Regions from separate parts of the Homo sapiens genome. Here region 2 is linked to region 1. The links are contacts of gene promoters, found by promoter capture Hi-C in blood cells and fetal thymus (Javierre and others, 2016). All regions are on one chromosome and are shown on one strand. Each heading gives the region's core, a stretch centred on a gene start or on the middle of the fragment in contact. The rest is flanking DNA. Distances are from core to core; before and after follow the strand shown. Region 1 holds the start of PHLDA1 (pleckstrin homology like domain family A member 1). Region 2 has its middle 190 kb from the start of PHLDA1-AS1.

Region 1 (2,727 bases), core at 228-2,727:
GGGGAGCAGAAAACATGTAGTTTTTTTGTTATTGGTATACATAATTGTAAATCTTCGAGATAATTTTACTAGAAGTCCACATAATTTTAATAATTGCCTTTCTCCTGAAAAGATTGCTAATAAATTAACAATGTGAAGGCTAGAAAGCTGGCCAAGCATAATCCGGTGGGACTCAGGATTGCTGGCTGGATTGTCCCGTTTGATCAGACATTGTTTCTTAGATGAATATTCAGGACGCCCTCGTGTATAAAAGTTGTCCTTTGTTCTGACTACCTTGGTATTAAGTTCGAATTTCTTACCATGACACACAAAGGATTCGATTCTTGCTTAGCTCTCTAAGCTCCTCTCACTTTCTCTTCCCCTCTTGAATTCTTTGCTCTTGCCACACAACTAGCAGATGAACTAATCTATCTGTTCCAACGTGGGCACAGTAGCAGCCGTAACTCTTACCTTGGCCCACTCTGACTTGTCCAGCCCTGGTTGAATTCTTCGTATCCCCGTGAGGGTCCGCACGTAGTTGGGGCTGTTTACTAAACGGATGAACTTCCCTACCGGGAGGCTAGGTCTCGGTTATGCCTTACTTCCCAGGAAGCGGCTTCTATAGGCATTGTTTAAATGTAGGAGTAGGAGGGAGCTGGGGGTATTGCATTCCCCAGGTCACAGATAAATGAGATTCCAAAACCAAGATCTGGCTAGGCCTTGGAAAGAGGGACCTGCGAGGCCGACCAGACGTTTGGAACTGCGCCTTGCAGTGTGGGATCTCAGCACCGGATATTACCCCGGTTTGTAGAGAGTTGAGTTACTGTTTTAAGAGACGTTGCAAACCGTACGGGTCAAGAAGAAAGCCGAAGACGGGTTAGCGCCTGCGGTCGGGGTCGAGAAAAGCAGGCGAGATGCGACCTGACGTGGGTCCGCCTCTCTCCACCCGTGGCAAGCCCGACAGTCGCACTATTGCTTTAACAATCGCCCTCTTTCCAAGAAGAGCTACTTAGTGACCGTGAGCGAATATGCGTGGGAAGACACGATGTCCTCTCGGCCTCTGTGCGCTCAGTTGTTTACCTAGGCGTCCGGGGGAGGCACACTCGCGGGACTCGCGGGACTCGGCCCCGGCCTCCCAGCTCGCCCAGGACACGACGCTGGTTCTGCGGGCTCTCGGAGCCCAGCGCGAATCCCCCGGGCTAATTCCCAAGAACCGAGAGGCAGCACTGCCTGGAGGCTGCCCCCGCCTCCGCGCCCCCGTCCTCACTTTCTGAGGCTGTTAGCAGAGAGTCCCGCGGGCCGGGGAGAAGCGGGACGCGGGGGATGGCCTCGCAGCGCCCTGTGAGCGTCGGCAGTAGTCAGGCAGCCAGGGCTCCTTGGGCGATCGCCCTGGGTAGAGGAGAGGAGTTTCCGGGGCTCGGGTCCGGGTCGCCTTCCAGGGGAACGAGCGCGGAAGCAAGTGGGCGGCGAGAGGCGGAGCAAGAGACGCTGGAGGGCGTGGACGCAGCGGGCTTTGGAAAGGCCCCAAGTTAATGAGGCGTGCGCCGGCTGCCGAGCGCCTCTTGGAGCTGGGCTTTCCCCCGCGGTGCGGGCGCCAGGAGCCGCCTTTTCCGCTGGGTGTCACTCGGGGGTGGGGAAGATGGCCCATTCAAAAGCGCCGCGAGGGGGCCCGGCCAGTGCCCTTCAGTGAGCGCTCGCAAGAGGACGGCAGAGGCCCGGCAGCTCGGAGCTCCGGGACCTTGTGGCGCATCAGGACGCGGCTGTCCCTCTGCCGGGACCCAGAGCCGCCGCCGCCGCTCTGCCTCCTGCGTGTTAGCCTCCTCTGCGCGCTCCGGGCAGGCGGCCGTGGGAGCCGCTGGGGCGAGGACGGCGCGAGGCTGCTGCTGCTGCCCCCGGCCCGCGCGGCTGGAAACGGAGAGGCCGAGCCAAGCGGCGGCCCCTCTTATGCTGGGAGGATGCTGGAGAGTAGCGGCTGCAAAGCGCTGAAGGAGGGCGTGCTGGAGAAGCGCAGCGACGGGTTGTTGCAGCTCTGGAAGAAAAAGTGTTGCATCCTCACCGAGGAAGGGCTGCTGCTTATCCCGCCCAAGCAGCTGCAACACCAGCAGCAGCAGCAGCAACAGCAGCAGCAGCAGCAGCAACAACAGCCCGGGCAGGGGCCGGCCGAGCCGTCCCAACCCAGTGGCCCCGCTGTCGCCAGCCTCGAGCCGCCGGTCAAGCTCAAGGAACTGCACTTCTCCAACATGAAGACCGTGGACTGTGTGGAGCGCAAGGGCAAGTACATGTACTTCACTGTGGTGATGGCAGAGGGCAAGGAGATCGACTTTCGGTGCCCGCAAGACCAGGGCTGGAACGCCGAGATCACGCTGCAGATGGTGCAGTACAAGAATCGTCAGGCCATCCTGGCGGTCAAATCCACGCGGCAGAAGCAGCAGCACCTGGTCCAGCAGCAGCCCCCCTCGCAGCCGCAGCCGCAGCCGCAGCTCCAGCCCCAACCCCAGCCTCAGCCTCAGCCGCAACCCCAGCCCCAATCACAACCCCAGCCTCAGCCCCAACCCAAGCCTCAGCCCCAGCAGCTCCACCCGTATCCGCATCCACATCCACATCCACACTCTCATCCTCACTCGCACCCACACCCTCACCCGCACCCGCATCCGCACCAAATACCGCACCCACACCCACAGCCGCACTCGCAGCCGCACGGGCACCGGCTTCTCCGCAGCACCTCCAACTCTGCCTGAAAGGGGCAGC
Region 2 (2,882 bases), core at 288-2,787, 190 kb after region 1:
TGGTCTCATCTCCTGCTCCCAGGTATAAATCTTTGCTCCTTGAATAAGTGTCTGGGAGGGCTTAAGTGTAAAGCCCTAGAGTCTGCCTTGATTGGGTCTCAGCTCTGGCACATGTGGCTGTGTGACCTTGTGCAAGTCATGTAACTTCTAAGGCTCAGTTTCTTTATCTGTTTAGCCCATAGGGTTATTTGAAGACCAAAAACATAATAAGCCATGTAATATAAAGCCTGGTGCATATATTACTCCAGGAATTATATTAAATGAGAGTTCGATAAGTATTAGATAGTCTCATCCAGCCAACCCATAGTTTGCCTGCCATACATTCTTATGTAAAAAAAGCTAGACAGAGGCAGACGTTCTAAGACCAAGGCTTTTTTACATGTCTAAATCTTATGCATCGTTTAAGGCCCAGGTCAGACTGTATGACCTCAGTGAAGCCTTCTTGGACTCTAACAGGTAGAAATCCATTCTCTTCTTGCATTCTTAGTATAGACATGATCACTTCATAATTTGCAAGACTGTGTTTATATACAGGTCTCCTCTAACCTACCCCACAGTAAGCTCTTTGATTTCTAGGATCTTAATCATGTCTTCGCTGTTCATGTCACCAGTATGCCTTATACAAAGTAGGTGCTCAGTAACTATTTGTTAAATGAATAAGCTTTCATCTGGGTGGGATTTCCTCACAGTTATTTATTTTTATTCATTAAAGAAAACATGAAGAAGTATTAATCATTTGATTTGAGAAACATAGCATATTTTCCAGTAATTTTCTCCCCTTACTCTTATGCTATGCCAACGCAGGTGTCTTTTGAGGAACTCTGTATCTATTGATTTATTCAGAACTTATATCCCACCTTCTTTCAAAGGGATGTGAAAGAACATACTAAATTAAACCTAATGTGAAATAGGACAATTATGGCTAAAAAGAAAACAGAGACCATCTCAAAGAAGCAGGGAGCAGATGTTACCAGGCACCTGGGATGAGCTAATTACTATACTTGGTAACTGAATTTGGCTCTGCATTTCTTGGCAGCTAGAGCTGAAAGGAAACACATTGGGTTATTCATTCAGCAAACGTTTGTTGACTATCTTTGATAAATGGGGCACTGTGCTAACCCTGGGGATTCTAAAGTGAATAAGCCTGGGTCCCTGGCTTCAGCACATCACTTAGCCTGAGTTAAGTGACTGGAGATAGGTATGAGGGGCAATGGAAATACAGGGAAAGGACATTGACTCTGTTTGTAAGGGGAGCCAGGGAATGCTCAGGGAAGAGCAGATGATTTCACCAAACAGTTCAGTGAGGGAAATGCATTTCTTGTGTAAGGAACAGAATATCCAGAGACCAAGAGGCCTCAAAGATGTGTTTGTGGAATGATGCGTTAGGCGAAGGAGTAGCAGAAGGTGAGTTTAGAGGGTTGAGTAGGGGTCAGATTATGCTGGACTTCATATGCCATGTGGAAGAATTTGATGTTAACCTCTTGGCCAGCGTTTGCCAACATGGCTGCACACAGGAGCCACTGGGGAGCTTCCTGAATCAGAATCTCTGCAAGCAAAGACTGGGAATCTCTATGCCCATAGCATGCCTTGGTTGATTTTCATGCAGTCAGCCTTGGCACCAGTTATTGGATCAAGTTTGTGAATCGCTGTGGCATGGGCTAGAGAGAAACCCCTGCAAAAGTTTAAGCAGGGGGAATATCTTACAGATGTGGATTTTAAAAACTACCTCTGATGTGGAAAAACGGGTCAACAAGAGCAGACATAAGATTGGAGGAAGGGACCAATATGAGCTTATTTTGCTCACTTGATATGAGCACTGAGCACAATATCTGGCAGAGAGAGGTGCTCAAAAAGCAACTCATTGAATGTAAAAGCTGGTTTTACTTACAGTGTTCTGTGACTTCTGGGAACATGTAGCTGATTCTGGACAATTGAGCAGAAGTGAGATGTGATAGATGTATGGGGTCAAATAGTCCCAGGTGCAGATTTTAGTTTCATCCCTGGGCAAGTTGTTTTAAACCTCTCAGAGCGTAAATGGTGGGAAAAATAATCCTAAATTTGCATAACTTCTGTGAGGATTAAATGAGATAACACATATAGCATAAAGTGGCAGAGGACTATTTCTCTTTCTTTCTCTCATTACATTCATAAACAATAGCCAGAGATGCTTTGACTATCTCAGTTCTGTTCTGATTATCTGTTGCTGTATGTTCCACAGTGAGCAGGTCTATGCAAACCTAACCTCAAAGGCTGAGGGAGTTGAGAGGCTGAAGAAAGAGACTGACAAATGCAGTTTCTCTGAGAGGAACGTTTAAGAGAAACTTAGGAACAGAAGCCGTGTCTTGGGATGGCCTCTAGACAGTGGATCCCCATACCTGCCCTCCAGAGAGTATTCCTTATTTAGCAAGCTTTTTTTGGTAAAATGTGCAACTGGTCATGTCTTCAACCCTCTTGTGAAACTCACCACTGGGGAAGTTAGTTAAGTGTTTTTATGAGGGATTATCTATGCTACAGGCATTGCTTCTTTATGAGGGGTTATTTATGCTACAGGCATTGTTTCTTTATGAGGGGTTATCTATACTATAGGTGTTTCTTAACCTTGCTGCAGGAGTCAGACATCAGTCATTATGGTGGTTTTGCTTCAAGATGGCATTACTCTTGCCATGCAATAAGCTGTTTTCCTACACTATATAGCAAACTATACCAAACTTAGAAGTATAAAACAACAGCCATTTTACTCTACCGATAGATTATGTGCATCAGAAATTCAAACAGTACAAAGTAGTGATGACTATGTTGCTGCCCTATTATATTTGGGGCCTCAGCTGGGAAGAATGGTATGACTGGAGAGTGGAATTATCTAGAGTGCCCTGGTGGGGATG

The links. The method cuts DNA at HindIII sites, captures the fragments that hold promoters and counts their contacts. A CHiCAGO score of 5 or more calls a contact.
Region 2: a contact is called between a fragment that was not itself captured here and the fragment with the promoter of PHLDA1 in region 1, in 3 of 17 cell types (M0 macrophages, M2 macrophages and endothelial precursors). The highest score is 7.6, in M0 macrophages.

What each region holds. Positions count from the first base shown.
Region 1 is chr12:76,030,526-76,033,252 of GRCh38, reverse strand. PHLDA1 (pleckstrin homology like domain family A member 1) reads left to right here and starts at 1,477. Exons shown (of 2, transcript NM_007350.3): 1 at 1,477-2,727. The coding sequence starts at 1,512. The coding sequence ends at 2,717. It overlaps PHLDA1-AS1 (PHLDA1 antisense RNA 1), which reads right to left. Exons shown (of 2, transcript NR_186034.1): 1 at 2,659-2,727; 2 at 1,875-2,342. It overlaps PHLDA1-DT (PHLDA1 divergent transcript), which reads right to left and starts at 1,440. Exons shown (of 2, transcript NR_185978.1): 1 at 451-1,440. RefSeq lists an enhancer at 1,322-1,571 and a silencer at 1,792-1,941. The HindIII fragment of the contact is 8,299 bases long and covers 1-2,727 here.
Region 2 is chr12:75,840,471-75,843,352 of GRCh38, reverse strand. No RefSeq gene overlaps it. Among named protein-coding and RNA genes, the nearest start is that of PHLDA1-AS1, 190 kb to the left of the region's middle. The HindIII fragment of the contact is 1,747 bases long and covers 664-2,410 here.